Regions from separate parts of the Homo sapiens genome. Here all the other regions are linked to region 1. The links are contacts of gene promoters, found by promoter capture Hi-C in blood cells and fetal thymus (Javierre and others, 2016). All regions are on one chromosome and are shown on one strand. The core of a region is centred on a gene start or on the middle of the fragment in contact, and the rest is flanking DNA. Distances in the headings are between cores, read along the strand shown.

Region 1 (3,096 bases), core at 301-2,800:
CTGTAAGACATTTAGAACAGTGTCACAGCTATTGTTATCTTGATAGACCAAAGTCACTGGAAGATAATATTTAATTGGAAAATTAACAGTGGTATACTACATAATCTCTAAATAAATACAGATAAATAATTACAGAGAAGAATAATCACAAATGTAGAAAACACTGCTTTGAAGTTTAATATGTATTCCCTCTCAAAGGAAATGATATTATACTTACGCATAATCCCGCCTTGAAACAAGTCTAAAAGCCTCATGACTAAGGCCATTCCAGCTATCCTAAAAAAGAAAAAACTGACTCAGTCACCAACCAGTGTGTATCCTGGGAGGAAAAAGAGAAAACTTGGGCTCACTTAGTATATAAAATACATTAAGCTACTAAAACAGTAAATATTAAAGTTTCCCAAATAAGTAAGACGAAAAAAGGTAAATAAAAGATGGCCTTAGAATCACATTACAGTAGGATTTCTCAACCGTGGCGCTATTAATTTTGGGCGAAATTTTTGTGGTGGGGGCTGTTCTGTGCATTGTAGGATATACAGCAGCATCCCTGGCCTCGACACCCTAGAAACCAATAAGCACCCCAGTAAGTAAGTGACAACCTAAAATATCCACAGACATTGCCAGATGTCCCCTGGGGGAAAACACTTCCCCTTACCTTGCCGTGCAATTAGTTTAAAAGAACTAGAGTTACTAAGGGTCTTTGAAAGAAAAAAGAAAAGTAGTGGCGTTTCACTAGGATAAAAGACCTTTATTACAACTTAACCTCAGGCTCCTTCCAAGCCTTCCTTAATGCCCACATACAATTCCTGTTCTCTAAAGCATTTGTCTTTTATTTTAGAAAACAAGTAACCACTCCATAGCCTTTTCTCCGCCCCACGATCTGCTTTTTTTTCTGAAGTAACAAACGAGTACAATCTTACACCACAGATTTTGAGAAAATGTTGCTAAGCACGAAAACTGGAGTTCCGACTCAGAGCTTTCTTATTTTATTTCACCGTATCAACGGGATCCTTACACACTCTGTATTCTGTAGAGGAGCCAAAAATAAAACTGAAAATAGTGGCTTTCCCAATAGACTGCATCCCTCACCCCCAAGGCCAAACCTTTCCATTCAGCCACAGAACAGGCCATGAGGACCACTACCTGGTAATTTTGAAATGACACTCTAGATCGCGAGGGGTGTGACTCAGCAGGGCCCAAGCCGGAGGCAAAACCTTGGGCAAAATCTTGACCCGGCAGCGCTAACTATGGAAGGCCCGTTACCTTCCTTCCCGCCTGACCTATACTGGAGAATTCAAACCCTAAAGGGCGCGCGGCCTGCCGCAGCGAAGCCCGAGGCCCAAGGCCCGAGGCCGTGACCCCATTCGGGAAGGTCCCAGTTCCTCACCTGGTGGCGGGCGGCCGTAGGGCCCCGGGAGGCTGCGGCGCCCACGAGACGGGCTGCTGCAGCTCGGCTGGCACTTATCATGGCGGATAAATGGAGGAGTACGAGGCAGCAAACAAGCGCTCCGACGGCAAAGAGCTGCGCGATGCGGTGGCGGCAGCGCTTCTGGAAACCTCCAACCACGTGGGGTGAGGGGCGGGGGTTGGTCACTGCGGCCCAGAGGCCCGCTCTTCCGCTGAGGCGCCGCCCGCGCCGCCTGACCAGAGGATACTCGACTGCCGCTCCCGGAGCCAGGGCGTACAGGTAATATGCTCCGCAGCATGATGGTTGGAGAAAGCCTGCCCTCCTGTCCCGGCTGCGGCGGCTCTGAGCTCAGAAAGAGTCCAGGGGAGGAAGAGGGATATGAAGGCCGTATCTCGGACAGCCCCGGTCCTCGGCGACAGGAAAGACTCAAGGTCACACGGGATAAATTGCGAACCGATTACAGTCTTCTTGCGTCAGTTGCGCGGGAGGAGGAGCCTGTTGGCGCAACAGACATCCAGCTAAGAACCTAGAGCGCATGTGCGCAAGGAGTGGCGGAAAACATGGGTGGAGACTAACTGCGGCGCTCACTGGGTGCCCGAGTGCACGCCAGCGTTCCCTGGGGCGAGCCCGGGCGCGTGCACACCCCCCGGGCGTGGACGTGTTCCCAGCTCCCGCTCCTGGAGGACGGCGCCATCTTGTCTTGTGGCTTTGTGAAGTGAGGACGTCAGTACTTTTGTTGTTTGGTCCCGCCCGTTGTTCACAACTTGAAAGACACTTGGATATGCAGACAGACGTTAAACAATTTCGTGTTGCGTTTTATCACAGGGGTCTTGGGTTTCCAACTACGAAGCGTTTGATTCACACAGAACATTAGGCCAATTAGCCTGCACAAAGGGAAAAAAAAATAGCTGAGCTTGGCCGGGCGCTCACGCCTGTAATCCCAGCACTTTTGGGAGGCCGAAGCGAGCGGATCGCGAGGTTAGGAGATCGAGACCATCCTGGCTAACACGGTGAAACCCCGTCTCTACTGAAAATACGAAAAAGTAGCCGGGCGTGGTGGCAGGCGCTTGTAGTCCCAGCTACTCGGGAGGCTGAGGCAGGAGAACGGCGTGAACCCGGGAGGCGGAGCTTGCAGTGGGCCGAGATCGCGCCACTGCACTCCAGCCTGGGCGACAGAGCGAGACTCCGTCTCAAGAAAAAAAAGAAAAATAGCTGAGCTTCAGGCTCTTCCTCTCCCCACTGTGCTGGGCCTGACTTGAGACTCCTCTGGCCCTTTTTAAACCTTGTGCTGGTGGCAGGATGTCAACTACTTCACTACCCTGTGACCAGTTTTTAGGTTTTTGTTTTTTTTTTTGAGGCAGTCTTTGTCGCCAGGCTTGAGTGCAGTGGCGCCATCTCGGCTCACTGCAACCTCTGACTCCCTGGTTCAAGCTATTCTCCTGCCTCAGCCTCCCAAGTAGATGGGATTACAGGCGCGCGCCACCACGCCCAGCTAATTTTTATATTTTTGGTAGACACCGGGTTTCACCATGTTGGCCAGGATGGTCTCGATCTCCTGACCTCGTGATCTGCCTGCCTCGGCCTCCCAAAGTGCTGGGATTACAGGCGTGAGCCACCGCGCCCAACCCAGTTTTAGATTTTTAAGAAGAGGAATTAATTGATTCAACAGATATGTTTTGGCATGCCTA
Region 2 (3,096 bases), core at 273-2,772, 990 kb after region 1:
GCTAATTTTTGTATTTTTGGTAGAGACGGGGTTTCACCATATTGGCCAGGCTGGTCTCGAACTCCTGACCTTGTGATCCACCTGCTTCGGCCTCCCAAAGTGCTGGGAATACAAGCATGAGACACCGTGCCCGGCCTTAAGTAGTTTTTAAATACAATTCTAATTAACTTGCTTTTTTTTTTTGAGACCTCAGGTGATTTGCCCGCCTTGGCCTCCCAGAGTGCTGGGATTACAGGGATGAGCCACTGCACCCAGCCAATTTGCTAAGTTTTTTTTTTTTTTTTTTTTTTGAGATAGAGTCTCGCTCTGTTGCCCAGGCTGGAGTGCAGTGGCACAATCTCGGCTCACTGCAAGCTCTGCCTCCTGGGTTCACGCCATTCTCCTGCCTCAGTCTCCCGAGTAGCTGGGACTACAGGCATGCACCCCCATGCCCAGCTACTTTTTGTATTTTCAGTAGAGACGGGGTTTCACCATGTTGGCCAAGCTGGTCTCAAACTCCTGACCTCCAGTGATCCACCCGCCTCGACCTCCCAAAGTGCTGGGATTACAGGCGTGAGCCACTGTGCCCCGCCTTTTGTATGGTTTTGTGTGAGGTCTTGGGAAAACCAGTTTTGTAAATACATTGATCCCGTAGAAGTTTATGTATTACTCTTCCATTATGATCTGTTTCATGTTTTGAGTTTCTCTGTAGACTGACAATACACTTTGAAAATGTCTGAGATTGGGAAGTTACCGAAGCATGATCTTAAAGAAAGTAGTTGTAACGCTGAACAGTACTGTATTTTAAAAAATTGCTTAGGCTGGGTGCGGTGGCTTATGCCTGTAATCCCCCAGTACTTTGGGAGGCTGAGGCGGGCCGACCACCTGAGGTCAGGAGTTCGAGACCAGCCTGCCCAATATGGTGAAACCCTGTCTCTACTAAAAATACAAAAATTAGCCAGGTGTGGTGGCACTCACCTGTAATCCCAGCTACTCAGGAGGCTGAGGCAGGAGAGTTGCTTGAACCTGGGAGGCAGAGGTTGCAGTGAGCCAAGATCTCGCCACTGCACTCCAGCCTTTGCAACAGCGAGACTCCATCTCAAAAAAAAAAAAATTGCTTAAAAATACTGTAGGCCGGGCTGGGCGCTGTGGCTCATGCCTGTAATCCCAGCACTTTGGGAGGCCAAGACAGGTGGATCACAAGGTCAGGAAATCGAGACCATCCTGGCTAACACGGTGAAACCCCATCTCTACTAAAAATACAAAAAATTAGTCAGTGTGGTGGCAGGTGCCTGTAGTCCCAGCTATTCGGGAGACTGAGGCAGGAGAATGGCGTGAACCGGGAGGCAGAGCTTGCAGTAAGTGGAGATCGCGCCGCTGCATTCTAGCCTGGGCGACAGAGCGAAACTCTGTCTAGAAAAAGAAAAAAATGAAAATAAAAAATACTGTAGGCCGGGCGCGGTGACTCACGCCTGTAATCCCAGCATTTTGGGATGCCGAGGTGAGTGGATCACGAGGTCAGGAGTTCAATACCAGCCTAGTCAAGATGGTGAAACCCTGTCTCTACTAAAAATATAAAAATTAGCCGGGCATGGTGGTGAGCACCTGTGATCCCAGTTACTGGGGAGGCTAAGGCAGAGAGTTGCTTGAACCCGGGAGGTGGAGGTTGTGGTGAGCTGAGATCGCACCACTGCAGTCCAGCTTGGGCAACAGAGCAAGACTCCGTCTCAAAAAAGAAAAAAAAATACTGTACTAGAGGTGTGGTACCATATATTAGATTAATATTAGAGGTAAGGACTGATTGAATTCCTATCAAAATGATGAATTAACAGGTAGTCCTGTGGAGTATTGGGAACTTTAATAAATGGTTGTCTGAATATGGCTATTTAAATTAGTTCTATCTTGGATAGTTCTATCTTGGATACCTTCTTACTCCAAAAGGTGAGCTTCTTCACATAAGTTCTGGGAATTTTTTTTTCCCCACTAAAAAAGTATTTTTTATTTCCTTTACAAAAGATCATTGAATTAAGGCACTTTCTTTGGCTCTACTAGATTGTTATTTAAATATAATTCAAACAGCCATCGAGGATAACTGTTAATAAATCTAGGTTTTCTCTGAAGTCTCCCAGTGTATATTACTGTACTGATGACTGACAAGGAAGAGGTTTTGACAAGGTCCAATTCTGTATATTTCTCTTAAAATATCCTAGGCAGTTCCCAGGATAGGAGTATCTGACTCATGCCTCATGCTACCAGGAACCTTTGCAGCCTCATCCCAGAAATGCAGAAACACACTTGTTTTGTCTGTAGAAATAAAGTTTTGATGGTTAGATTTCCAGGCAAACCTTCAAAATCATGTTAAACTATAATATAGGGAAATAAAGTAGTGTTTGTTCTTCTGTCTGCAGAGTCAAGTGAGATTTTGGGTAATAGAATCATAAAATGTTAGCACTGCAGCACATCTCAGGGCTGCTGTCTGGAAAGGCCGTGTGACCTACCAGGTAAGAGTAGGTCTGAATTGAGAACCTGGATTTCTGGACTGTCCAGTGTATTTTCTGGCAAGCCATGTGTTATCCTTACATAGCTGTTAGGTATATAAATCCAGAGGATGCAGCCTTTTTTCTTTTGTTCAAACAATTGGATATTTAAACTGTGTCCTGGAACCTGAAGATCTTCCTCAACTTCCCTTTATATGATTGGCAAGGTTGCTCATACTGCTTGAAACTGCAAATTTAGGCTTGACACAGTGGCTCATGCCTGTAATCCCAACACTGGGAGGCCAAGGTGGGAGGATTGCTTGTACCTAGGAGTTCAAGACCAGCTTGGTCTGTAATGGGAGACCCTGTCTCTACAAAAGCGAAACAAAGTGAAACAAAATTAGCTGGGCATGGTGATGTGTGCCTGTAGTCCTAGCTACTCAGGAGGCTGAGACAGGAGGATCACTTGAGCCTGGATGAAAGGTTAAGGCTACGGTGAGCTGTGATCATACCACTGCACTCCAGCCTGGGCAGCAGAGCCAGATTCTGTGTCAAAACAACAACAACAACAACAAAACAACTATTGCAAATTTGGTGTTCTATTCTCACCACCACCACCACCCCGCCTTTTTTTCCCCCG
Region 3 (3,096 bases), core at 406-2,905, 830 kb after region 1:
TGCTCTGCCCATCATCTGGGGTAACACAAATGGCTCAACTTGAATTATGTGTTTGGGTCCTCAGTTCTTGCTGTCAGCTTGGTTGCTGGGTTCTCTTCTGCATGGCTTCTCCTTTGGTTAGTGTAGTGGTCTCAGGTAGTTGAATTTACATGGTAGCTGGCTTCCCTCCAAGTACAAAAATGGAAGCTGCCAGTTTTGCCACATTCTGTTGGTTAAAGGTCAAAGGCCAGCCCCGATTAGAAAAGGGACTACACAAAGGCATAAATATTAGGGGATGCCAAATTAAGTCTACCACACAAAGTTTCCTGGGTTTTTGACTTTTTAATTTTTTTTTTTTTGAGACGGAGTCTTACTCTGTCGCCCAGACTAGAGTGCAATGGTGCAATGTCGGCTCACTGCAACCTCCGACTCCCAGGTTCAAGCGATTCTTCTGCCTCAGCCTCCTGATAGCTGGGATTACACACACCCGCCATCATGCCTGGCTAATTCTTGTATTTTTAGTAGAGATGGGGGTTTCTCCATGTTGGTCAGGCTGGTCTCAAACTCCCGACCTCAGGTGATCCACCCACCTCAGCCTCCCAAAGTGCTGGGGTTACAGGTGTGAGCCACTGTGCCTGGCCAACTTTTTAATTTTATTGTTAGAGACGGGGTCTTGCTATATCACTCAGGCTGGTCTCAAGGTCCTGGCCTCAAGTGATCCTCCCACCTCAGCCTCTGGAGGTAGCTGGGATACAGGTGTGCAAAACCGTGCCTGGCTTGGGTTGCTGACTTTGGCACTTGGATGGGTGGAAGTGCTAGTGATGGTAATGGGAGCACTGGAAGTCTTGCTTCCGTTCTCCTTCACTAAATAAAAATCTACTCATCTCTGTAGGAAGGGTGATTATATTTCACATATTTCTTCCTCAGAGTTGCTTTCACTGACCCCTCAGACTGGGTTAAATCCCTTTGTTATACAGTCTGTGGTCACCTTGGTCTCCCTTTAGCTATTCATTGCACTGGGGAGTGCTGTGGAAAGCCTGGCCTCCCCATTAGATGTGAGCTCCAGGAGTCTTGGTGCTGGGCCTCACCTGTTCCCTGACCCCCATTCCAAAAACCCAGCCCACCTGGCTCAGAGTAAGTTCTCAATCATTGCTGAATTGAATCTCATCTCACTTTCTTTTTCAAATGAAAGCTATCATGACCAGTTAGGATCATGTAAATATCATTTACTATATTTTTAAACCAAAACTTTCCTAAATATGGGCCACTAGGACCAAAGCCAGCAAGGAACTGGGATAACACCTGAATTTCTGATGCTAAGTGTAGTTTTGATCTGTATATTGGCTGTGAGGTACTGCAGCTGCTGTTATCTGATAGAAAATGTGGAACTGATGCCAACAATGCTATCTACTATTCTAAATGCAAATAATCCCACTGACGGGTGAGGGAAGACTGGAGCAGGCGTCAAAAGCTTCTTTAGTCGGAAGTGGCTCCAAGGGAGTCAGGCGATGTGCAGTGGCCAAGGATGCCATGGGCAAAGGTAAAAGAACCAAGGAAAAGTAGCCATTCTTTTAATATAAAATTGTTTAATGTTTTTCTTTGTTGCAGTACACTCAATCCAGATGTAGTGGATGAGGTGGCCAGATTTTTTCAAGATTCTTAGTCCACCAGGAGCTGATTCCATTTGTGTCATCCCTACTCTGGTCACAGAACATTCACATCTTTAATTCCAAATACTGAGCGTGATGTAAATGATGTAATCAGTATCTAACACGAGTATATACTTTCTTGGTGGCCACTGCATGACATATCAACAGTGCAGCCTCAAAAAAAAGATGTTTTGTAACTTGGCCCTTTCCAAAAATAAATATATTAGGACACTAAGCTTATACCTTAAATGAGGGCAGAATAAATATGAATGAAGTGCAAGCTCCTGTGAGGAGCAGTGCATGCAGATGATGTACTTGCTTGTATGGTGTGGCCAGCTGTAACAGAAAGCCACTGGAACGGCACAGTGCCTCCTCACAAAGCCCATCCTGGGTATCATGAGGAAAAAGAATGACACATAGCTTGGCCAGGCTGCTGGAACCCATGTTCCAGTGGCATCTGGAGTTCACTGTATTTTCTTTTTTCTTTCTTTTTTTTTTTTTGAGACAGAGTCTTGCTCTGTCACCCAGGCTGGAGTGCAATGATGTGATCTCAGCTTACTGCAACCTCTGCCTCCCAGGCTCAAGAGATTCTTCTGCCTCAGCCTCCTGAGGAGCTGGGATTACAGACACGTGCTACCATGCCCGCCTAATTTTTGTATTTTTAGTACAGACAGGGTTTCACCATGTTGGCCAGGCTGGTCTGGAACTCCTGACCTCAAATGATCTGCCTGCCTCAGCCTTTCAAAGTGCTGGGATTACAGGCATGAGCTACTGGGCCTGGCCAGTTCACTGTATTTTCGAACAATTTCCAACAGAAAGCACAGCAGTGACGTTTCCTTACTGGTCACTGCTCCCGTGCTGTGAGGCCTGGAGCTGATCAAGGAAGCTTACACATTTCCCGGCCTGAGCAGATGAACTCTAGGGTTGCTAATCTGGGGACGTGGGTTCCTTCAAGCTCTTTGTGATGAGAAGGATTTTCATCCTCCTTTTCTCACTGCCGATCGTGCGGTAGAGAGAGCATCTTCATTTGAATGAGAGCTTCAGTTTCTGCTTGAGCCTCAAGCCCTATTTCTGAGCGCTGCTCCTCTCACACACGTCTCCAATCTGCAGTAATGCTCAAAGAAACAGTCTAGAGCTGGGTGCCAAGCTCCGGCAGCAAGAATAAGCCCTACCTAGTTATGTATGATCAGGAGATCTTCCAAAGGACGTAGGCGAGAGGAAAAAGCTTATTTTACCACCATGCAGACAACCCATCTAAAATATAACCCAGGAAATTATAGCTTCACAATATTCTGGATAGTATCAAATAGATAAATCCTTCAACCAAAAGCAAATACGGTTCCCTTGAGGAAAAACAGATGTGAATGTTGTGGTCTATTGGCAATAAATAAAACAGTACCATCGGTGCTATAAAAACAGACAATCAGCGTGACATTTAATGGAGTTAGTTATTATTGCTTCTATTTAG
Region 4 (3,096 bases), core at 431-2,930, 790 kb after region 1:
CCAGCACTTTGGGAGGCCGAGGCAGGCAGTTGACTTGAGGTCAGGAGTTTGAGACCAGCCTGACCAACATGGAGAAACCCCATCTCTACTAAAAATAAAAAATTAGCCGGGCATGGTAGCACATGCCTGTGATCCCAGCTACTCGGGAGGCTGAGGCAGGAGAATCGCTTGAACCCGGGAGACGGAAGTTGTGGTGAGCTGAGATTGCACCATTGCACTCCAGCCTGGGCAACAAGAGTGAAACTCTATTAAATAAATAAATAAATAAATAAATAAATAAATAAATAAATAGAATAAAAAATACAAAATTTGGCCAGGCACGGTGGCTCATGCCTTTAATTCCAGCACTTTGGGAGGCCGAGGTGGGTGGATCACCTGAGGTCAGGAGTTCAAGACCAGCCTGGCCAACGTGGTGAAACCCCATCTGTACTAAAATTACAAAAATTAGCTGGGTGTGGTGGTGCATGCCTGTAAGTAATCCCAGCTACTCAAAAGGCTGAGGCAGGAGAATTGCTTGAATCTGGGAGGCGGAGGTTGCAGTGAGTGGAGATCGCACCATTGCACTCCAGCCTGGGCAACAGAGTGAGACTCTGACTCAAAAAAAAGAAAAAAAAAATACAAAAATTAGCTGGACATGGTGGCGGGCGCCTGTAGTTCCAGCTACTTGGGAGGCTGAGGCAGGAGAATCGCTTCAACCTGGAAGGCAGAGGTTGCAGTGATCCGAGATTACGCCACTGCACTCCAGCGTGGGTGACACAGCAAGACTGTCTCAAAAAAAAAAAAAGGAAAAAGGAATTGTGCTGCTTTTTACAATGGAAGCAGAGTCTCACGACATGGAATCACTTCCGGCAACACTGTAGAGCTAGTCTTAGACGGACTTCTAGCCCCTGCTTTTAGTCCTGATGTTGCCCTAGGGTACTTAAATGTCCTAAAGAATTAATAATTTAAAAACACACACAATATTATCATGTTACTTGCCTATACAGAAGTAGCTTGATGGAGAAGTTTTGCTCTTTAATCTTGTCTTGGCTGGGTGCAGTGGCTCATGCCTGTAATCCCAACACTTTGGGACGCCGAGGCACGCGGATCACGAGGTCAAGAGTTCGAGACCAGCCTGACCAACATGGTGAAACCCCGTCTCTACTAAAAGTATACAGAAAATTAGCTGGTTGTGGTGGTGCGTGCCTGTAATCCCAGCTACCTGGGAGGCTAAGGCAGGAGAATCGCATGAATCTGGGAGGTGGAGGTTGTGGTGAACCAAGATGGTGTCGTTGCACTCTAGCCTGGGCGACAGAGTGAGACTCCACCTCAAAAAAAAAAAAAAAAAAAAAAGCGGGGTGGGGGGAATTGTGATAACTAAACATCAGCACTAGAGTGAGAACTGGCTGGGTCCACTGAACTAATCTGTACACCATGATTACCTATGAAGCATTAAATACAAAAATCAGTTCTTTAGTTACATCCCAACATGCTCAGTTGTCTGGGCATGTTAATTTTTTAAAAGTACTACAGAGGATTTATTATACAGCCAACTTGCCTGAGTCGGTCATTTGGAAACCATTCTTCTAAAGGATGGTGTAGAGAGCACTGAAGTTTACATTGTGGTATATAGCCTTTGTTGCAGTAAGTGATGGTAACCCATTTGAGCAGCTGTATGATCTGAATAGTCTGGAGGGGGGTATGATTACTTACGGCTACATTAGTCACCATAAATAATCCAGTTGCCCTGCAGAGTAACACTCTTGGCTGAGCATAATGTATAACTTTAATCTGGACCCAGTATAATTCCATAGTACAGAAGCTGGTTTGTTCTTCTCAGTCTATTTGATATTACTTTGTTTCATTCTTCTGTTGCTCCCAGAAAATTGTTCATTTAAGAACACTGTGCCTGGATGTGGTGGCTCATGCTTGTAATCCCAGCACTTTGGGAGGCCAAAGTGGGAAGATTACTTTGGCCCAGGAGTTCGAGACCAGCCTGGGCAACAAAGGGAGACCCTGTTTCTACAAAAAGTTTAAAGTTAGCTGGGTGTGGTGGCACAGGCCTGTGGTCCCAGGTACTTGGGAGGCAGAGGCCAGAGGATCACTTGAGCCCAGGAGGCCGATGCTGCAGTGAGCTGTGATTGTTCCGCTGCCCTCCAGTCTAAGCAACAGAGCGAGTCCATGTCTCAAAAAAAGAGAAAAGGAATGCTGCTTTTTTTTCTTAAACTTCACACTTTTAAAATGTAGATACATTATTTCCCTTGGGGGAAGGGAGAATATATCCTGTCCAAAGAAACTGCTATGTATAAATTACGAAACTAAAATTATTTCTTCAACATGATGTTTAATATTATGCATTAGTCTTGAAGTGATGTAGGGTCAAATTCAATGTAAAAGCCTTGCAGCATACCTACATTTCAGGCCCTGGAACCTGCCCTCATTTCTTTTTATTTTTTTCAACTTGCAGTCTAAAATATCACAGAGGAAAATTTCTAGCTGTTCTTCCTAGATGCTGACAAGTCTACTTAGGAGAGTAAAGATTTAGAGACATAGCATAACATTGGTACAAGTCTCTAAGACTCAGACTTTGGCCCATTCCCCCCCACCCCTTTTTTTTTAACTGATGCAAAAATTTGAATCCCAGAGAAAGGTGACTTATCTGAGTTTACACAGAAGTTAGTTAGGGGCAGGGCTGGGATTTCAGGCTTAGGTCTTCTGGTTCCCCATGTAGTTTTCTTTTCCTGTTATATACCATGCTTCCTGTGGGAATTAGAAGATGGCAATTGTAGAAAAACAACTCCACATTTTTAGTGAGGATTCTAAAGTAAAATCAGCAATTCCCCAGTTACTTTAATCATAATTTCAACACTTGTTTAACATGGTTCCTTGGTATTTAGTGTTTAAAGAAAGCTACATACCATAGTTCGATTAACAGAATTCCTTGTTCCGTGCTATTCCTTTAACTTATGTGAAGTTACTGGATTTCTGGTTACACTTAAGCAAACTGAATTTCAATTCCTATTTTCTCTTTAGAAAATTGATGTAATTTAGGCCGGGTGCAGTGGCTCACGCCTGTAGTCCCAGCATTTTAGGAGGCCGAGGCAGGCAGATCACGAG
Region 5 (3,096 bases), core at 436-2,935, 770 kb after region 1:
ATGCAACAGATGAGGAAACCGAGACTCAGGTTAAGTAACTTGCCATGGTCACACAGTTAGTAAAGCAGCCTGGTTCCAGAGCCCATGGGTTTTTGTTGTTGTTGTTGTTGTTGTTGTTTTTGAAACGGAGTCTTGCTCTGTTGCCCAGGCTGGAGTGCAGTGGCGCGATCTCGGCTCACTGCACGCTCCACCTCCAGGGTTCATGCCATTCTTCTGCCTCAGCCTCCTGAGTAGCTGCACCCGACACCACACCTGGCTACTTTTGTTTTTGTATTTTTAATAGAGACGGGGTTTCACCGTGTTAGCCAGGATGGTCTCGATCTCCTGACCTCGTGATCCAACGGCCTTGGCCTCCCAAAGTGCTGGGATTACAGGTGTGAGCCACCGCGCCCAGCCCAGAGCCCATGTTTTTTAATCGTTACCTTACTGTGCCAAATAGTAAAACAAAAAATTCGGTGCTTTTCACAGACTTCAGAGTGGAAAACAGACCAATTGAAAAATGTTGCGATCCTCTTTAACTGCCAAAGGAAGTATGCTTAAACGTATATATGCGTAAAATACGATTAAAAAATATGCAAATAAGGTAAGGATCACAGTGGTTCAAAACAGAGTCCAAGGGAATGAGAAAAGATGGTGCCTATGGAGGTAGATTAATGAAAGAAACAGAAGAGAACTATGCTTGAATTTTTTTTTTTTTTTTTTTGAAACGGAGTCTTGCTCTGTTGCCCAGGCCTGAGTGCAGTGGCATGATCTCATTTCACTGCAAGCTCCACCTCCCGGGTTCATGCCATTCTCTTGCCTCAGCCTCCTGAGTAGCTGGGACTACAGACGCTTGCCACCATGCCTGGCTAATTTTTTGTATTTTTAGGAGAGATGGGGTTTCACCGTGTTAGCCAGGATGGTCTCAATCTCCTGACCTTGTGATCCGCCCACCTCGGCCTCCCAAAGTGCTGGGATTACAGGCGTGAGCCACCGCACCAGGCCTATATTTGAATTTTAATGAGAATTCTTAAAAGATGAAACTAGTGGAGAAAGATTGTAAAACCTAAAAGATTTCTGTATTTTAAAATTCCATAGACAATATAAAAGGACACTGCTGGAAACCAATATGTCTAAGAGGCATTTCAGGAGGGGAAAAACAGCTGAAGACACAATAAAGCCCTAAGTTGATAAATTGAAAGGGTTTGCTGACTTCCAGGCAGTAGTACTGGGAAAAAATTGCTCTTACCTATCCAAAATCTGGTGAAATATATGAATTTGTTAAAACATCTTAAGCTGTCGTCTAGAACAGGATTTTTAAATTTTTATTTATTTTTTTGAGACGGAGATTTGCTCTGTCACCAGGCCGGAGTGCAGTGGCGCAATCTTGGCTCACTGCAACCTCCGCCTCCCAGGTTCCAGTGATTCTCCTGCCTCAGCCTCCCCAGTAGCTGGGACTACAAGCATGTGCCACCACGCCCAGCTAATGTTTGTATTTTTAGAGACGGGGTTTCACCATGTTGGCCAGGATGGTCTCAATCTCTTGACCTCATGATCCACCCCCTTGGCCTCCCAAAGTGTTGGGATTACAGGCGTGAGCCACCGCACCTGGCCTATTTTTATTTTTTGAGATGCAGTCTCCCTCTGATGCTCAGGTTGGAATGCAGTGGCACCATCTCAGCTCACTGCAACCTCTGCCTCCCAGGTTCAAGCAATTCTCCTGCCTCAGCCTCCCGAGTAGCTGGGACTACAAGCGTGCACCTCCATGTCCAGCTAATTTTTGCATTTTTAGAGACGGGGTTTCGCCCAAGTTGGCCAGGATGGCCTCAATCTCTTGACCTCGTGATCCACCCCCTTTGGCCTCCCAAAGTGCTGGGCGTGAGCTGCTGCGCCCAGCTTATTTTTATTTTTTGAGATGCAGTCTCAGTCTGTTGCTCAGGCTGGAATGCACCATCTCAGCTCACTGCAACCTCTGCCTCCCAGGTTCAAGCAGTGCTCCTGCCTCAGGCTCCCGAGTAGCTGGGACTACAGCTGTGCGCCACCATGCCTGGCTTAGTTTTTGTATTACTAGAGATGGGGTTTCACCATGTTGGCCAGGGCCGGTCTCAAACTCCTCACCTCAAGTGATCCACCTCCCTTGGCCTCCTAAAGTGCTAGGATTATAGGTGTGAGCCACTGCACCCAGCCTAGAACAGGATTTTTAAAAGGAAAGAAAATTGATTTTCTACAACATTGAAAGTTGGAATTATTGACAATAGATTATCAACAGGAAGCACAGACATCTCAGAATTCTGTTACAACTAATTTTTTTTTTAGCACATTTACATGGAAATACTCATGTTACAACTTTTTTTTTTTTTTTTTTTTTTTAAGACACAGTTCCGCTCTGTCGCCCAGGCTGGAGTGCAGTGGCGCGATCTTGGCTCACTGCTACCTCCACCTCCCGAGTTCAAGCGATTCTCCTGCCTCAGCCTCCTGAGTAGCTGACACTACAGGCGCCCACCACCATGCCCGGCTAATTTTTGTATTTTTGGTAGAGGCAAGGTTTCACCATATTGGCCGGGCTTTTCTAGAACTCCTGACCTCAAATGATCCACCCACCTTGGCCTCCCAAAGTGGTGGGATTACAGGCCTGAGCCACCACGCCAGGCCATACAACATTTTTATTCAAACATGAAGGCAAAAGATGTTTTGTAGCATTAGGAGATACACCTAATGCTAAATGACGAGTTAATGGGTGCAGCACACCAGCATGGCACATGTATACATATGTAACTAACCTGCACATTGTGCACATGTACCCTAAAACTTAAAGTATAATAATAATTTTTAAAAAACTGTGGTACATCCATAAAAAAAAAAAAGATGTTTTGGACACTGGCTTAGAATGATAAATCCTCAGGTAGCCTTTTGAACTATTTTACAAAGATAGGAAGTTAGGGGAAGATGATGAATATAAGAAACAACTCGGCCAGTGTGGTGGCTCATATCTGTAATCCCAGCACTTCGGGAGGCCGAGGTGGGCGGATCACCTGAGTTCAGGAGTTCTAGACGAGCCTGGCCAACATAGTGAAACCCCATCTCTACTAAAAATACAGAAATTAGCCAGGCACAGGC
Region 6 (3,096 bases), core at 338-2,837, 750 kb after region 1:
TGATGTTTATGGCATTTAATGCCATACGTTTTTCTAAGTTTAAATTTATTAATTTAATCCTCACAGTAACCATATGCATCTCATACTGTGATCTCCAGTCCATAAATGAGGAAAATTGAAATATGGAGAAGTTAAATAATCCCATACTGCTTATAAGACACAGAGCCAAAATTTAAACTTGGGCAGTCATTCTTCAGAGCATGATTGTTTTTTTTTTTTTTTTTTTTGGAGACGGAGTCTTGCTCTGTTGCCCAGGCTGGAGTGCGGTGGTGTGATCTCAGCTAACTGCAACCTCCACCTCCCAGGTTCAAGTTCTGCTGCCTCAGCCTCCCAAGTAGCTGGGATTACAGGTGTCCACCACCACACGAGGCTAATTCTTGTATTTTTAGTAGAAACGAGGTTTCGCCATGTTGGCCTGGCTGGTATTGAACTCCTGAGATCTCAGGGTGATCCGCCCACCTCAGCCTCCCAAAGTGCTGGAATTACAGGTGTGAGCCACCATGCCTGGCCCAGAGCTTGGTTTTTTAGCCATTACACTGTTTGAGTATTTGCTCTAAAGAGTAGGTATTTGCAGTATACTGTCTTACAAAGGATATTGCTCAACTTTTACCAAATCAAGTTTTTTACACATTGCCTAGCAGCATTGTAGTCTCAGAAAAGATAAAATATGAATATTCCTATCTCATTTAACTTCTGCTCTTTGTGTGAGGCAGACCTTCCATTTTTTAGTTTTAAAATAAGCTAAATTATTTTTCAAATTATCAGTAATTTTTTGGAAGAAAGGAAGAAGTTACTATTTTGAGCCAATGAATAAAGACAAAGACGCGGCCGGGCACGGTGGCTCACGCCTGTAATCCTAGCACTTTGGGAGGCCGAGGTGGGTGGATCACGAGGTCAGGAGATCGAGACCATCCTGGCTAACACAGTGAAACCCCGTCTCTACTAAAATTACAAAAAAAATTAGCCGGGCGTGGTGGCGTGCGCCTGTAGTCCCAGCTACTCGGGAGGCTGAGGCAGGAGAATGGCGTGAACCAGGGAGGCGGAGGTTGCAGTGAGCCGAGATCGCGCCACTGCACCCCAGCCTGGTCGACAGAGCAAGACTCCGTCTCAAAAAAAAAAAGGCAAAGACGCTATCCGTTTCCCTTCAAGTAAAGCAGACAGAAGGGATGCTGCAGGATAATTGTTGCAGAGTAAATTTGTCTTTCTTAACAGCGTCGTTTTCCAGGGAGTATGGAAGGTTTTGTCACTCTAGATGAGGTTGGTGATGAGGAAGATTCGGAACTTCAGAAACTTCGTAAATCGGGCATGGCATTTAAATCTGGTGACAAAAATGATGATGGTTTGGTTGAAATTAAGGTGGACAAGATCGAGGAACTTGATCAAGAAAACGAAGCAGCGTTGGAAAATGGAATTAAAAATGAGGAAAACACAGAACCAGGTGCTGAATCTTCTGAGAACGCTGATGATCCCAACAAAGATACAAGTGAAAACGCAGATGGTCAAAGTGATGAGAACAAGGACGACTATACAATCCCAGATGAGTATAGAATTGGACCATATCAGCCCAATGTTCCTGTTGGTGAGATTTAAGTCTTTGTTCTTCACCTTCCTCACTCTCCTCAAAACAAACTCTTAGGTTTTAAAATAAGATTTTAAAGTTGGTCTTACATAAGCTGTGATAGCATTTTAAATTTGCTTTGTTTCTATGGGGAACAATTTATAAATCTTAATTGATATATTTTCCTCTCATGCATGTCTCTGATTTTGTATTATTTTCTGTTGTTATTCCACAATGTGTTCCCTTTTTTCGTAAAATTTCTTGCAAGTTACACGCTTTTGTTTTGCTTTTCTGTGTTGTTTTTCTGTATTATATTTCTTTTTTTAAGAATACAGTTAGGTGAGACCTCAAACATCAATTAGGTAAAAGCAAAATATGGTTCGGTTTTTGTTTTTTATCTTAGGCTGTATTGGACTTCTCAAAAACATGTTGTTTCATTTAAATTATGTTGACAGGTGAAATTGTGAATACTAAATAAAATCTTCAGTTTAATTTGTAAGAATGTATGTTTGTATTTCTAGGTATAGACTATGTGATACCTAAAACAGGGTTTTACTGTAAGCTGTGTTCACTCTTTTATACAAATGAAGAAGTTGCAAAGAATACTCATTGCAGCAGCCTTCCTCATTATCAGAAATTAAAGGTAAGGTTGAATGTAAAACAGTTCTTTTGTGAAAACTTAACAAGTTATGGAAATAAGTGGGGTATATAAGTAAAATGTGTATAGTGTTCTCTCTAGACTCAGTGCAGTGCTTTCTCCTGAAGATAACTTTTTATTTACTTTTTTTTTTTTTTTTAAAGACAGTTTCTCTCTTGTTGCCCAGGTTGGATTGCAATGGTGCAATCTTGGCTCACTGCAACCTCTACCTCCTGGGTTCAAGCAATTTTCCTGCCTCAGCCTCCCAAGTAGCTGAGATTACAGGCATGCACCACCACACCCAGCTAATTTTTGTATTTTTAGTAGAAATGGGGTTTCACCATGTTGGCTAGCCTGGCTGGTCTTGAACTCCTGACCTCAGGTGATCCACCCACCTCAGCCTCCCAAAGTGCTGGGATTACAGGCATGAGCCACCGCGCCTGGCCTTTTCTTTCTTTATTGATGGGTTATCAAAACATCTGTTGAACCTCTTGTCATAGTTTACCCTTGCTACATAACAATTTAGTGTTTTCTAACCATATTATAAATTCTGTGGTAGAATTAAACTTATTCAAGTATTCTCAGATTGTTGTTGGGCTGTACTTTCTCTAATTTGAAAGATGCTGGGAGTCTGAATACTAAAAGTGGCATGACCATTCATATTAAAATAATTTTTAATATTGACATTATTATTGACACTTCAGTTATTTTTATGACCAAAAGTATATAAAGATCAAAAGCATAAATACATAAACCACAACATCACTAAAGAATAATTCCTATTGAGATATATTGAAATTTGTTTTTGTAATTATCAGCTTCTTTGGACTACCTATTGAAATAGTGACTGAAACTTAAAAGTAGTTGCTAAACAAGTCAATTATAGATACCTTGGTTTTTC
Region 7 (3,096 bases), core at 1-2,500, 730 kb after region 1:
TTGCCCCAAATCCTTCTACAGCTTAAAAGGAGGAGAACTGAAGAAGGCCCTACCTTGAGTTATGGTAGAGATGGCAGATCTGCTACACGGGAGCCACCATACAGAGTACCTAGGGATGATTGGGAAGAAAAAAGGCACTTTAGAAGAGATAGTTTTGATGATCGTGGTCCTAGTCTCAACCCAGTGCTTGATTATGACCATGGAAGTCGTTCTCAAGAATCTGGTTATTATGACAGAATGGATTATGAAGATGACAGATTAAGAGATGGAGAAAGGTGTAGGGATGATTCTTTTTTTGGTGAGACCTCGCATAACTATCATAAATTTGACAGTGAGTATGAGAGAATGGGACGTGGTCCTGGCCCCTTACAAGAGAGATCTCTCTTTGAGAAAAAGAGAGGCGCTCCTCCAAGTAGCAATATTGAAGACTTCCATGGACTCTTACCGAAGGGTTATCCCCATCTGTGCTCTATATGTGATTTGCCAGTTCATTCTAATAAGGTGAGTTAACTCAACAGATGCTTCTAATTTCTTTTACATTGTAGTGCCTATTTACCTATATCTTTGACTCTAATTCTGTAGTCTGATGACATTGAGTTGATCAAGCATTTTTAAACTTTTGAGAACACTTACTTTATTTGGAAGGTAATTGTTTTTGAGCATTTTAAACCAGGGCTTTACATTAATATATTCTGCCTAGATTACTTCTGGCCACAAAGCTATCATCCACTGAGATTATCTTGTTGGTTTTTGGCATCAATATGTTCTTCTTAATCATATATTTAAGCAGGTTTTTTTTGTCTGCTTTGTTGAATTGTTTTAAGTATTTTTTTTGCAGTCAATGTGCTCTGCCATTCAGGATGCTAGATTTCAGCTCTCCATCTGTCTTGATTGCTGATTTGTATGTAGTAAAGATGTATTCTTGAACAATTCTCTTTTTTTCCTTATCTGTGGCTACAGGGAAAGAGTTAATGTAGAGCCCTGGTGTTTGTTTCAGTATGTTTCATATTTTAGATTAGTTCATTCTTCCTTTTTTAATTTCCCTTTAACACAAACTCTCATACTATGACTGAAATTTTTCATCATTTTTTTTCTCCTTTTCCACAACTTTCTTAAACATACTTCAAAACTCACTTTTTATTATCCCATGTTACATCTGTCCCTTTAGAGACTTGGACAAATCAACTACTACAGTATCCTGCTCTGTGTTCCTCATAAACAAATTCTTTTTCTGAGTTAGGCTTAGACTTCTGAAATAGTCATTTGAAAAGAAAATCTAATTCTCCTTTGCTTTAATTATCACATCTGGCAAAATGGGAACTTTTTCAAAATGCCCTTTTAAATATGTTGTCCTTTCTCTTTCAACTTTTTCAGTGTTACTCATTCTGACTTTTTTTCCCCCAATATATGGTGCAGTTGACTTAAAGTCATTGTTATAGCACCCCACTAGCTTGATCTATAATCTGTGACCGTCCATTTTTTCCTGATGTGCTCTACTTAACTGGAACAAGTTGCTGCCATGAAATTGATTTGATGGTTACTGTTACAGGGTTTTTCTTTACAGTAACATCTGGAAGGGTCATTTTCTTTTCATAGCTAATCCTTTGATAAGCATTTTTTAGTAAATGAGTATGGATTTTTTTTTAGTAGACTAAATCATACCATTGTTTTTAATATTCTGTTAAAGAGTATTACCAGTCACTCCCTTTCCTTGTGTTTGGATCTCAGTATTTTTGTCTTTTAATCTTTAATCTGTACCAAAGTAAATTAACATAAATGCTAAATTTAGGTTTATTTAAACATTTAAGAAGATGTATTTTCATTAAGAAATACAACCCCAGACTCACAAAAGCCAGCAAATTTTAATTGGTATATGTTTTGGGTGTTACCTTTTCCTAAATTTGTTGGCTCTACTAAATATATCATGGAATTCATTTTAGTTTCTGATCAGCACTAAACTTTAAATTTTAGGTCCCGTGTGAATTCATAGAATGAAAAGGTCCATTAAACACTGGTGACTCCAATTTTTTCTGCGTTATTTCTTGCCTGTTTATAAGGAAATAATAGCAGAAATGTCAGTATGACCAATATTCTCAGAAAGGGTCTCTAAATTCTGAGGAAAATAGATAGTTACAAGTGTCTCAAATGAGAGTGATGTGAAGGGACTTAAAAAATCTTCGCTACTGGAGTCATTAAGCTGTTGGGACATCATGAACACAATGGAACCATGAGAGGACTTCGAGAAAAGTTTCTGTTTTTATGTATGATTATGCTTTTTTCCTTCAAATTTTGCTACTTTCTAGTTCCTGAAGAAGGCTAATAACTTAAATGGATCTAAATTAACAAAAGAGCAGTTTTTACATATTTTGATGAAACTATGGATTCAAGAGTAAGATACACTACCCTAGTGCAAGAGGTACTTTTAGCCTGTAAAAATGCTTAGGTCCTAGCTAGTTTTGGTATTCTGTCAAAATACTGAGTACATTTGAGAACTATTTTAGAGGCCTTTTGTTTAATTCTGTGGTTTAAATGTGTAAATTGGACCAACTTTAAGAAGTTTAAACACATGGATTATCTGAATTTCTAGTTTTCTAGTTGCTTTACTATGTTTTTTACGTATATGCATTATATTGAAAAAATCTTTACTCACTTTAGCAGTGGACCCTCTATAACCGCTATAGAAATGACCTTAGAGAAAATTTCTGTGATGGAAGTAGATAATGAAAAATTTTTAAACATTTAATCCTGCTCTCTGGTATTGCTGCATAACTTGGAAAATCTGTTCTTTTTACTTAGTGGTATTGTTAAATAGTCTACATGATCAAAAATTCTTACTGTGAAGTAAGAAACTTAAGTTGAAAATAATTTGTCATGGAGTGTCATTATTTTTAGGTGACTTAAAGTGATGGTGGTGTTTTTATTTCTTTATAGGTCATTTTAGGTCATCAAATTGCTTTTCTTTTCTTTTCTTTTTTTCTTTTTTTTTTTGAGACGGAGTTTCACTTTTGTTGCCCAGGCTGTAATGAGTGCAATGGTGCGATCTCGGCTCACCGCAACCTCCGCCTCCCAGGTTCAAGCAATTCTCCTGCTTCAGCC

Evidence for each region. Contacts are between HindIII fragments. The CHiCAGO score rates a contact against its expected background, and 5 or more counts as called.
Region 2: a contact is called between a fragment that was not itself captured here and the fragment with the promoter of HSPA9 in region 1, in 1 of 17 cell types (neutrophils). The highest score is 5.4, in neutrophils.
Region 3: a fragment that was not itself captured here is called in contact with the fragment with the promoter of HSPA9 in region 1 in 1 of 17 cell types (naive B cells); the score reaches 5.7 in naive B cells.
Region 4: a contact is called between a fragment that was not itself captured here and the fragment with the promoter of HSPA9 in region 1, in 4 of 17 cell types (total CD8 T cells, megakaryocytes, monocytes and 1 more). The highest score is 6.5, in total CD8 T cells.
Region 5: a contact is called between a fragment that was not itself captured here and the fragment with the promoter of HSPA9 in region 1, in 12 of 17 cell types (monocytes, erythroblasts, fetal thymus and 9 more). The highest score is 13.5, in monocytes.
Region 6: a fragment that was not itself captured here is called in contact with the fragment with the promoter of HSPA9 in region 1 in 15 of 17 cell types (erythroblasts, megakaryocytes, monocytes and 12 more); the score reaches 20.6 in erythroblasts.
Region 7: a contact is called between a fragment that was not itself captured here and the fragment with the promoter of HSPA9 in region 1, in 6 of 17 cell types (erythroblasts, megakaryocytes, naive CD8 T cells and 3 more). The highest score is 11.7, in erythroblasts.

The regions. Positions count from the first base shown.
Region 1 is chr5:138,573,851-138,576,946 of GRCh38, forward strand. It overlaps HSPA9 (heat shock protein family A (Hsp70) member 9), which reads right to left and starts at 1,551. Exons shown (of 17, transcript NM_004134.7): 1 at 1,388-1,551; 2 at 218-276. The coding sequence starts at 1,468. All of the region lies in intron 1 of LOC105379193 (a long non-coding RNA gene), which reads left to right. RefSeq lists enhancers at 1,132-1,779, 1,296-1,345, 1,586-1,865, 1,780-2,428, 2,006-2,145. The HindIII fragment of the contact is 10,827 bases long and covers 1-3,096 here.
Region 2 is chr5:139,567,262-139,570,357 of GRCh38, forward strand. The region is part of intron 1 of UBE2D2 (ubiquitin conjugating enzyme E2 D2); the gene reads left to right. Among named protein-coding and RNA genes, the nearest start is that of UBE2D2, 7.5 kb to the left of the region's middle. RefSeq lists an enhancer at 737-1,238. The HindIII fragment of the contact is 5,795 bases long and covers 1-3,096 here.
Region 3 is chr5:139,408,658-139,411,753 of GRCh38, forward strand. It overlaps DNAJC18 (DnaJ heat shock protein family (Hsp40) member C18), which reads right to left. Exons shown (of 8, transcript NM_152686.4): 8 at 1,546-3,096. Among named protein-coding and RNA genes, the nearest start is that of SPATA24, 6.1 kb to the left of the region's middle. The HindIII fragment of the contact is 414 bases long and covers 1,449-1,862 here.
Region 4 is chr5:139,364,893-139,367,988 of GRCh38, forward strand. The region is part of intron 3 of PAIP2 (poly(A) binding protein interacting protein 2); the gene reads left to right. It overlaps SLC23A1 (solute carrier family 23 member 1), which reads right to left. Exons shown (of 15, transcript NM_005847.5): 15 at 2,304-2,739. Among named protein-coding and RNA genes, the nearest start is that of SLC23A1, 17 kb to the right of the region's middle. The HindIII fragment of the contact is 6,493 bases long and covers 1-3,096 here.
Region 5 is chr5:139,344,943-139,348,038 of GRCh38, forward strand. The region is part of intron 1 of PAIP2 (poly(A) binding protein interacting protein 2); the gene reads left to right. Among named protein-coding and RNA genes, the nearest start is that of PAIP2, 4.6 kb to the left of the region's middle. The HindIII fragment of the contact is 8,536 bases long and covers 1-3,096 here.
Region 6 is chr5:139,324,084-139,327,179 of GRCh38, forward strand. It overlaps MATR3 (matrin 3), which reads left to right. Exons shown (of 15, transcript NM_018834.6): 13 at 1,357-1,579; 14 at 2,080-2,201. Among named protein-coding and RNA genes, the nearest start is that of PAIP2, 16 kb to the right of the region's middle. The HindIII fragment of the contact is 5,429 bases long and covers 1-3,096 here.
Region 7 is chr5:139,307,827-139,310,922 of GRCh38, forward strand. MATR3 (matrin 3) reads left to right here. Exons shown (of 15, transcript NM_018834.6): 2 at 1-501. Among named protein-coding and RNA genes, the nearest start is that of MATR3, 16 kb to the left of the region's middle. The HindIII fragment of the contact is 4,094 bases long and covers 1-3,096 here.